Linked DNA regions of Homo sapiens: region 2 is linked to region 1. The links are contacts of gene promoters, found by promoter capture Hi-C in blood cells and fetal thymus (Javierre and others, 2016). All regions are on one chromosome and are shown on one strand. The core of a region is centred on a gene start or on the middle of the fragment in contact, and the rest is flanking DNA. Distances in the headings are between cores, read along the strand shown.

What was found. The method cuts DNA at HindIII sites, captures the fragments that hold promoters and counts their contacts. A CHiCAGO score of 5 or more calls a contact.
Region 2: a contact is called between a fragment that was not itself captured here and the fragment with the promoter of OR4K5 in region 1, in 3 of 17 cell types (neutrophils, fetal thymus and naive B cells). The highest score is 7.9, in neutrophils.

What each region holds. Positions count from the first base shown.
Region 1 is chr14:19,917,938-19,923,464 of GRCh38, reverse strand. OR4K5 (olfactory receptor family 4 subfamily K member 5) reads right to left here and starts at 2,858. Exons shown (of 1, transcript NM_001005483.1): 1 at 1,887-2,858. The coding sequence starts at 2,858. The coding sequence ends at 1,887. All of the region lies in intron 2 of LOC124903278 (a long non-coding RNA gene), which reads left to right. It also overlaps a transcript of OR4K1 not described here. The HindIII fragment of the contact is 8,373 bases long and covers 1,310-5,527 here.
Region 2 is chr14:19,869,748-19,875,274 of GRCh38, reverse strand. It overlaps OR4K2 (olfactory receptor family 4 subfamily K member 2), which reads right to left and starts at 133. Exons shown (of 2, transcript NM_001005501.2): 1 at 1-133. The HindIII fragment of the contact is 5,805 bases long and covers 1-5,527 here.

The sequences.
Region 1 (5,527 bases), core at 1,609-4,108:
AATTACAACAAAATCCTGAAATAATATTTTAAGAAATCTGACGAGCTGGTTGTAAAATGTTTATAGAACATAAAGGGGATAAACTAACAAAGACACTGAAAAATAAGAGATGAGAGAACTTAATCTATCAGACATCAAGATTTATTTTAAAACTGTAGTAAATTAAAACAGCGTAATATGGGTGCAGGGCTAAACACATGCATTAACGAAACAGAATAGAGTCTAGTAACAAATCCATACATACACTGAAGCTGAAAATGTAAGAGAGGTAGTATTGCAAATTGAGGGAAATAATGAACAATTAAATAAATGACACCAAGTCTGATTTCTACATATTTACAAATATATAAAAATAGATGCCTAGCTCCCAAAATGTACAAAATGAGTTACAAAGCGATGAAATTCTTAAGTATAAAAAGCAATATATGTTTTAATTTACAGAAGAAAATCTAAATAATGTCTTTATGATCTTGACAGAGAGAAGGATTTCTTAAATCAGACACATACACACAAAAAAAGATACCAAAAATGATTCACAAATCCAACCACATTAAATTTTCTAAAAATTATTACAAAGGCCATTTGAACAGCTGATAAATTTTACAACACTCTTGAAATGAAAAAATAAAATAGAGTGATGGGGAACAGATCATTGGTTGCCAGGGTTAAGATCACAGGGGAGACAGCACAGGAAAGTTTCTTTGAAGTGACGGAAGAGGTCTATGTCCTTATTGTGGCTGTTGTGACTACATGAATCTATTTATGCAATGATATTTCATAATACTATAAAGCAATAGTAAAAAAAAAAAGAGTACATGTAAAAACTGATTAAATCTGAATCTGAATCGTCTTCAGTTTACTTTGAAAAAAAAAAATACCATAGGCCTAAAGGAGAGAAACCAAAGAAGAAATAAATGTGGAAGGGTGATGCCCTGCCCAAGGTTGAGTTTCAGAACTCTTTGGAGAGAATATGAGTGAGGCCCCCTAGATGGAGAGAGGTTCTCTGGGTTGCACTGGACCAGATCTAGTCCACAGAAGGTGAAGTGAAGATGGGGATCAGAGAATTTAAGGCCAAGGCTGGCAATAAAACTTGCTGGAGGATGAGTACCACTGGGTGCCTGAACATAAGCCACTGGCAGCTGCACTGTAGGAACAAGAAGAGAAGTGGCACAAACGAAAATCTTGGTGTTGAAATAGTTCAGCTTTCTAGATTCTCCTCTCTTTTCTGCAACTCATAATCTAAAAGGAAATTGGAATTATCTAGCCAATCAGAGGCAGCCCTTTAAATGAAAGGTTTAAAATGGAAGCTTCTGAGTATGTATCATTCCATATTTTAAAGCATTTTAGCTATTTGAAAACCGTATGGGATAGGCATAATTGATTTTTGGGGGGGGGAGTCTCATAACCTAATAATCTCCACTTGAACTTAAGCAGTTATATTAAATTGTAGTTTGGCTATTCCCTGAAGTTGGCAAAATTCAGTTTCAGATTCTTAAATACTATTCATCCACATAGAAGTTTTAGGCATGTTGTTAAGAAAACTCTTAAAACCTGACAAATGTTTGAATGTATGCCCACCAGAGAATTAGGTTCTCATTGATTTTTTTCTTGATATTTACATTTACCCCGTAACAAAAGCAGTAAATGCATACATATTATCCATCTAGTGCCCATATTTTATTTCTAGAACCAGTAATCTAAACAGAGATTTTTCCATGTTTTTATATTTAACTTTCACTTGATACCTAGAAAAAGACTTGTTAATATTCATTAAATGTTCTCTATATTATCTTCTTCACTACTTTCCCCACAATTGAGATACACCACAAAAATACATTAAAATATTAAACAGTGTATTGACCTGAGGAATTTGAAGGAGTTTTGTCTTAATGAAAGGAAGTTCTCACTACTAGTGACATTTCAGAAATTCTCCTTGGCCTCAGGTAATGGTTCACAATTTTCCTTACGGCAGCCTTCATATCCCTATTCCTTAGTGTATAAATAATGGGGTTTAGGACGGGGGTGAAAACAGTGTAAAATATGGCAAGAAATTTATCCAAAGGAGAGATGGTAAAGGGCCACACATAGATGAAGATGCAAGGTCCAAAGAATAATATTACTACTGCAATATGGGAAGCCAGCGTAGAAAATGCCTTTGCCATTGCAGCTGAAGACTTGAGCCAAACTGTAACAAGAATAATGATGTAGGAGCTGACCAAGAGAGAGAAAGTGCTTAGGGAAAGAATTCCACTATTGACCACAATTAGTATTTCAATGATGTAAGAGTCCAGGCAGGCAAGTTTGGTGACTCGAGGAAGATCACAAAAAAAGCTGTCTACTACATTAGGTCCACAAAAAGGCAGGTTCACAGTAAATGATAACTGGCTTAATGTGTGCACCAAGCTCACAGCCCAGGAGATCATTACCAAGACAGTGCATGTCCTTCGGCTCATGATGACCACATAGTATAAGGGTTTGCATATGGCTACATACCTGTCATAGGCCATCGAAACAAGTAGCACCATCTCCCCTCCAGTAAAAAGGTGAATAAAGAAAATTTGGGCTATGCAGCCACTGAAAGATATGGTCTCGTGTGCACTCAGAAAATCTGCAATCATTTTAGGGGTAGCAAAAGAAGCCTGACAAATGTCAACAAAGGAAAGGTTTCCCAAGAGAAAGTACATAGGGGAGTGCAGGCTGGTATCAGAAGTCACTGTGAGGATAATGAGAAGATTTCCCAGCACAATGACTGTATACAACACAGAGAAGAAACAAAAATAGAAAAGCTGGAGTTTTTGAGAACTACAGAGTCCCAACAGTACAAATTCAGACACCACTGAAGAATTGGACTTATCCATGGTTCCAAGCTGCAAACTTGTTCTGAAACAACTCTAAAGGAGGATAAATAGAAAGGAATCAGAATTTGAATTAAGAATACTTTTAAGGTGAGGGATTCTGAGATCTCAGATATAATGTGCATTTGCTGAATGCAAAAATTTTGAAGAGGCCATAATAGTATGTCTGGATAGGTGGATAATAGGAAAGAACTTATGTAAATGTCTAAATAATGCTTAATAATTTAATCAGTATAATTAGAACCCCTTGAGTTTTTGGATAGTCCTTGTCTTTTATACAGTAGGAAATGAGCTTACCCAGGAGCTGACTCATGACAACAAGACTAGAGGAGTGACCTAGAGTCCAGCTCCACAAGCCTCATAGGTTGACAAAAAGTGTTTACATTTGCTTGTCTTGTGGTCATCTTACATCATCAATTATACAACATTCTTAACTTTTGAAGAGATATTCATGGCTTGATTATTATTACATGATGTAAAGTCACACAGATTAACTTTTGGCCAATTATTTTATCTGAGCTTTAATTCCACACCTTAAAAAAGATGGGAGGTATAAAAATACCTACTTTACAGAAAACTTTAGAGTTTAAGCAGAATAACTCATGACATTCTACCATCAAAGTAATTGTATTGCAACATATGATCTTAATACATTAAACACCCTATATTAATAGAAATTTACCTTCGTGCTCCTGCAGGAGTCATTTACAATTAGGCAATTCCTGCTAAACAGATACTATTGAATGTATATTATACTGGCCTATAGTTCCAACTGAGTTTGTCAATTAGTTATCCAATAATTTCTTAAAACACATATTATGGCTTACCTGAATTATCTAAATCCTATTTTCTGTTGATTATCCAAGAGTGGAACCTAAATTTTTCATTTTCTTTGCCTATCAGAATTAGATTTCAGCCCACTTACATTCTCCCTGCTAGAGTTCTCCATGATCTTCTTAAAACATCTTTATAATTAATGCTGGAAAATGAAGTTTAAAAAAAATTTCTGGATAGAGAAGTAAAAATGATTATAAACCTCTCATGCTCTTGAAAATATCTAAAAATTTGCATCGTATGTTTTTCACCCTGTAAAGACATACCCCTACTGTATAAATCTAGTTCAGTTGAACTGGAAAAACTTTAAAGAAGTGCTGTTTTAGGAAACCATATTAGTTCTGACAATTAACTGTTGACAACAGTCATAGTAAGAGGCCTGAGAGAGTAATGATCTAATTCTAGTCCCATGTGAGAACATGAACATCTTTTTCTGCTAATTTATTTCATACAAGAAGCCAGAGTCTTTCCTTTGTCTCTAGGCTACAGACCTAGTCTCTCATTTAGATGAATGCAGTTGCAATCCACACCGGGAAGCCCCACAGTAAACAATCATATTGTGTACTCTATTGGAAGAAGGTTCAGAGAAGCATTCCACTGGGCCACATTTTGGATATACATTATTGTAAACTCTGGAACTACGGCAAACAAAAAGATGACTCATTATAATTGTTTAAAGCATTAGTAACAACAAATCAGTGTCTATAATATACAAGAAGGCAATAACTAAGAGGATTCTGAAATATGATGTAATCACTTTATGCCATGTGTGACTCATTTTGTTCCCCCATTTCTAAAATAAAAGTGTCCTTGCTCAAGTTCATGTATTTATTACATAAAATGATTAACTCTACCTAACGAAAATGTTTATTGTATGAATGTAATGTATTAAGCTAAAAATTGAGGCAGATTTAAATATAGTGAATGATGAATCATAATTTTAAAATTTACAAATGAAGGGCAAAGAGAGCTTGCATTTGTTCAGACGCTGCTAGATAGCATCTACTGTGTATACATGTTTTATCAGGTGATCTTTACAACAGACCTTTGGAAAAGGGGTTACTAAACTGCAGAAGAGAAAAACAAAGATTAGACATGTTTACTAATCTGTGGTCAGACATCTAGTAAGGGTCAGAACATCTCAGTGGGGATTTGAAATCAGATAATAAAAATAATATTTAACATTTACTAAGCATCAAAGTGTTAGGCACTGTTCTGAGCTCTTAATGTATAGTAATTGAATCTTCCCATAACACTGCATGGTAAATGCACTTACTAATTCTATCTTACAATAAGAAGTCAGAGATACGGAGATGATAAGCAGTTTCCCTGAAGTTCCATAGCTGGAGAGCCATTAAACTAGAATCTGAACCCTGGTATTTGACTCCAAGGCCAGGTCTTGCCACATTACAACATCCTGTTTCAGATCTGAATATAAAACTCATGCCATTGACACTATGTTACAACTGGAAATTCCCTCAATATATGCTCATGATTCTAATCTTTTCACCTGCTATGAGGCATTCATTCATCAGTTGAGCCAGAGTTTCCCAACTTTGGCATTATTGACATTTGGGGTTGAATTACTTTGTTGAAACAGACTGTCATGTGACTACTGTAGGGTGTTCAGGAGCATCTCTGGCATTACCCATTAGATGCCAGCTACACTTTCCCCCCAGTTATGCCAACAAAAATGTCTCCAAACATTACAAAATGTCCACTTGAGGAGGTGAAAAATGACTCCCAGTTGAGAACCACTGTGCTACTGTGTTAAGTTGTCTTTGGCTTGCCTTTTTAGTCTCTCCCTGTTTCATTTAACTTTTCATTTAATCTTTTCA
Region 2 (5,527 bases), core at 1,550-4,049, 48 kb after region 1:
ACCAGGGCTTTAGATTATTCAGTGTTAAGTAGGCTTCTGACAGAGCATCGAAGGCAATTTAAAATATAAATAAATGACCTAGTTGAATCATTAGTTGTGTATCAGCTGTGGATAAAATGGATGTTGTAGGGACATGGGAATTGAACAAGAAATCACCTTGCAATGGGATTTATTAAACAACAAAGATGGCATTATTGAGTTGACAAAGGAAAGATATTTCAAGAATCTTATGGGAATTTACAAAGATTGTTTTCACCTGGACCTGAGAGAGTCAGGGACTAGAAGTTGGGAAAGTCCTAATTTCAAAAAGCAGCAGGAAATATCAAATCAACTAATTCTAATAAGCACTCTTGGTTCTCTAATGCTATATTAGAAGCAACGGAGAACAAAATCCAAACATTCATCTCTGCTTCAAGTAATTTACAGTTATTTGGAAATATTAAACACCTATAAATAAAACAATTGGTGAAAAATACCACCAAATAAACCTCATGTTCAGTCAATTCTCAGAGACCATGGATGAACTAGACTTTAGTTAAAAACAAAAACAAACAAACAAACAAAACTGGTAATGTGCAGAATCAATCAAGCAAGTGTTCTTGCAGGAGACATGTCATGAACTTGACTTAGAATGAAAACTAAAATATTAATTGGCAGAAGAAAAAAAATGCACGGGGAAGGAAAACAGTGCAGCTTATTTGCCATGAAACAGGATATTTAGTTAGCAGTTTAGAAGAGCAAGACTGCCTTTCTAAAAATTTAACTTGATATAAAAGATAACGGGTCATTTTAATGTCAGGGGCAGAATTATGATTATTTGAAAGCAGTATTATGTAAGCATTTATTTAGATAGTTTGGAGAAGGGAGAAATTTAATACAGATCATTTAATGAAATGGATATAAGGAGATAATTTTGACTAAGTTACCAGAAATGTGAATGTGATTGTAATTAATTAAATGAGACATCCAAGTAACTGTCATTATGAATATTTTTATTTATTGAATACTAATAATATGATTATTCTCCTGTGCAGTCTATGTAGTAGACTGAATTTTTTTTTTTTTTCAGACAGAGTTTCACTCTTGTCACCCAGCCAGGAGTGCAATGGTACAATCTTGGCTCACAGCAACCTCCGCCACCTGGTTGAAGCGATTCTCCTGTCTCAGCCTCCAGAGTAGCTGAGATTACAGGCATGTGCCACCATGCCCTGCTAATTATATTTTCAGTAGAGGCGGGGTTTCACCGTGTTGGCCAGGCTGGTCTCGAACTCCTGACCTCAAGTGATCAGCCCACCTCCACCTCGCAAAGTGCTGGGATGAACAGTGAGCCACCATACCCAGCCGACTGAATTTTAGAAAATCAAAATTGATTACCTTTTTGTATATGGCTCATCCCTTCAGGGACCTTCACATGCTGTGGAAGGAGTATAACCCTCACTTTATCTACCAGAACCTTGGATACATGACTTTGTTCAATGTAATGTGACTAGAAGTATCATATGCCACACATGAGCAGAAGTTTTAAAAGTCAATGCGTGACTCCAGCACTGTTTATATATTTTATTTTTTAACTCATCAGGGTCTTAGGATAAATAGAATAAATACAAAGAAACATTGAGAGATAGACACACATGTGCGCGCGCGCGCGCGCGCACACACACACACACACACACACACACACACACGGGAGGAATACAGAATGATGAGATATTATATGTAAATATGGAGTACCAGCCAGACCCTAGCCATCTGATACACTCCAGGTGAGGCACAAGATATGTTAGGAAATCCGTTCTGAAAGTTCCAGTACCAGCGGAGCTCCCAGGTAAATAATGCAAGTGCATGAGTCTTTCCTACAGACCGGAGAGTGGCACCTTACATCTTTCTATTGTCAAAGTGGTTAAGCTGAGAACTACAGTTCCCAGAATTCTTTTCTACACGTCTTTCCGTATTGGAGTTGTCTAAAAATAAATGTGTTTGGAATTTGAAAAGCAGCCCAAAGCACCAGCCATTACTCTCTGATCTTTGTGGCTATACAGATGCAGAGGTGCCAACAGCTTCTAGCTTGTTTTGTTCTCAGCCACTTCACTCTGCGTCCACCTTTTTCCCAACTTCTGAATTGGAGGATCAACAGAAGCCTCAGGCTGCCTGCCTGCAGATCCTCAGAAGCAGCAACTGAACAAAAATTTTTCTACCAGCAAAATTTTCTAAATTTTGCTCCTTTCATGACCTCTACTTCATTGGCTAGATGGGCTTGGTTTCTCGATTGACTGGCTATTGCTGCCTCTGATTCTGCAGCTCCCTGTTTCATGTCTTTGCTTTCCTAAGTCCTTCCAGAATTGTTTAAGGTCTAATTCCTATGGTAAATGCCTTATCCTACAGTGCATGGTAGCTCTGCTTTCTAAGTTGAACTCTATTTCTTAACCTAAGTCAAAACTAACAATGTAGATAAAATCAGAGATGTTTTGATTTTATCCCTGACATTCCAACATGTCAATCCTATTGTCCCCTATCATCTCCCTCTCCTTAGAGGTAAATATATATATATATATATATATATAAATAGGTATATATATGTGTATATATATAAAAATAGGTATATATATGTGTATATATATATAAATAGGTATATATATGTGTATATATATATAAATAGGTATATATATGTGTATATATATATAAATAGGTATATATATGTGTATATATATATAAATAGGTATATATATGTGTATATATATATATAAATAGGTATATATATGTGTATATATATATAAATAGGTATATATATGTGTATATATATATATAAATAGGTATATATATGTGTATATATATATAAATAGGTATATATATGTGTATATATATATAAATAGGTATATATATGTGTATATATATATAAATAGGTATATATATGTGTATATATATATAAATAGGTATATATATGTGTATATATATATAAATAGGTATATATATGTATATATATATAAATAGGTATATATATGTGTATATATATAGATAGGTATATATATGTGTATTTATATATATATACACACACACACACACACATATATATACCTATTTAAATATATATGTGTATATTTAATATATTTAAATGTTCCTCCATGGGATTTTATTATTTTATATTCCTTCTGGCATTACCTCACTGTAGTGTCATCTAGAGCAGGTGTTCAAGCTGCTAGAATTTTGCTGCCTGATAGAAACATTTACCATATGATAGTTGATATGTGGTATCTCAATGAATTTCAACATATGTTCATATAAAAAAGAGTTTGAGCATCTTTTCTATAGAAAATAGCTATTTGCGCTTTTTTCCCATTTTATGCAGGGTTCTTGGTCTTTTTATTGTCTAATTTAATAGCTTTTTATGTACTGATATACCAGTGCTTTGTTTTTTTATCTCTCAGTGCAAATGAGGAGATTGAGATTTATGATAATGTGGTGATGTACTCAGTATAATATAATAAAGTCTTGTACTGTGATGTAAACTCAGGCCTCCAAATCTGAGATTCAATGTTCTTTATATTACACTAGAGGCATATAATGCAGTTTCATCAAGTTATTTCTTTTCATCTTATGAATACAAGCTCTGTGAAATATAGTCAAAACTTTCTTGTTAATAGAGAAATATTTAAGTATGGGTGGCATTTAAATTTTATTGATTGTTATTCTGATTTTTAGCAGATATTAAAATTTTGATGATTACTTCACATTCTTTACATAGTTAGAATTTATAAACCAGAATTTTTTCACTTTTCACTTTTTTCTTCCATTACTCCATAATGATTCAAGTGAATAGTACAAAATTTAAATTCTCGAACATTCATTTTATTATTTTCTGTATCAGTTTTTTTCCAAATGGGGATACACAGGCCTTATACTCATTTGTTAATGGAGGAACTGGGAGATAACACTTGTAGTCTCATAAGTCAAATAATAGATACTATTTGTCTTGTCTTTGCTGTGGTCCAAGATACGCGTTATTCTTTATATTTTCCCAGCCAATCACATCCATGTCCTGTACATGAAACATTTACGAGCAATCATGCATTCTGTAATTCACCTTTAAATATGGCCAAACCAACTAGAAAGTTTTAATAACTCCCACTGCAACTTGAACATTTGTTTATTCCCCAAGCAGCAGCTGGTCTTTTTCTTGCCATGTAATTCACAAAATTATTTCATATCAATACAACTGTCATAAATACAAAGGTCTCAAGGACTGTGAGCCTCCTTTCCCCAGAAATTAGGCAAGGGATTCACCTAACTTCACTGTGACGCAGTTGTCCCTGCTTTCAGGAGTTGGTTATTATATTACATGTGTGGAAAGGATCTTAAAATTATCTAGATCAACACCCCTATTTTACATATGAAGACTTGGAAGCATCGGTTGACTCAGTAAATTACTTGATCCCACACTCCTAGGACAAGATTTCAATTCCCATTTTCTGACTCTCAGGTCACTGTTATTTCTGGTACACCAATTTAAATGAGTGCTGTGCTAGAGACTTCTATTTAAAAATCAGGTAGGTGAGTACAAAAGAAATTTAAAAGTTTCTGGGATGGGTAAAGCTAGAAGAACAATGTGAAGGTTTTTTGTTTATTTGTTTTTCAAAGGCCACAGCATTTTTAATAGAAAGCGAAAGAACAATAGGTAGTTGAATGAGTAAATTGGGTTTGGTCTTAGAACAATTTGTTTAGAATATATAGTTGTAACAGAGGTTTGAGAAGAAAAGAAAAACAAATGCTTGGATTAGTAGAAAGATGAAAAAGTTTTGTTATGAATTTTGAGTACACATCATTTCAATTGGCTTTCAGTGCACTTTGTAAATCTCAGATCTCAGTGAGACAGAGATTTCCTTAATCAGCCAAGTTACAACTTTTGAGGTGCGTTATATTACATAACTTATAAATTCATTACTCTCTTCTGTCTGATGTAAACTTGTCTCAACAGTTGCTCCATGTAAACTCTGGAAACAGGAAGAGTGTTTTTTGTTTCAAACAGCTTCTGTGAAATCAATAATTTCTAGCATTTAAAAATTGCCTGGCTTCTGGCAGCATGGTATTTAACAGTCTTTCTATTTAAAATGTACTTAGAAATGTATGAGTACTTCAGGCTTTAACCAGAACATGTTCATTAGCCTCTGAAAAATGTATGGCATTGGTGACATACATCAAGTGTCATTCATAATATCTGCATAACTAAAATAAAGGACAAATAATTAGAGGTGATTTCACTTTTTTTTTTTTTTTTTTTTTTGAGGCAGAGTCTCACTCTGTCACCAGGCTGGAGTGCAGTGGCACGATCTTGGCTCACTGCATCCTCTGCCTCCCGGGTTCAAGCGATTCTCCTACCTCAGCCTCCTGAGTAGCTGGGATTACAGGCGCATGTCACCCTGCCCAGCTAATTTTTGTATTTTTAGTAGAGACAGGGTTTCGCCATGTTGGTCAGGCTCGTCTCGAACTACTGACCTCGTGATCTGCACACCTCGACCTCCCAAAGTGCTGGGAT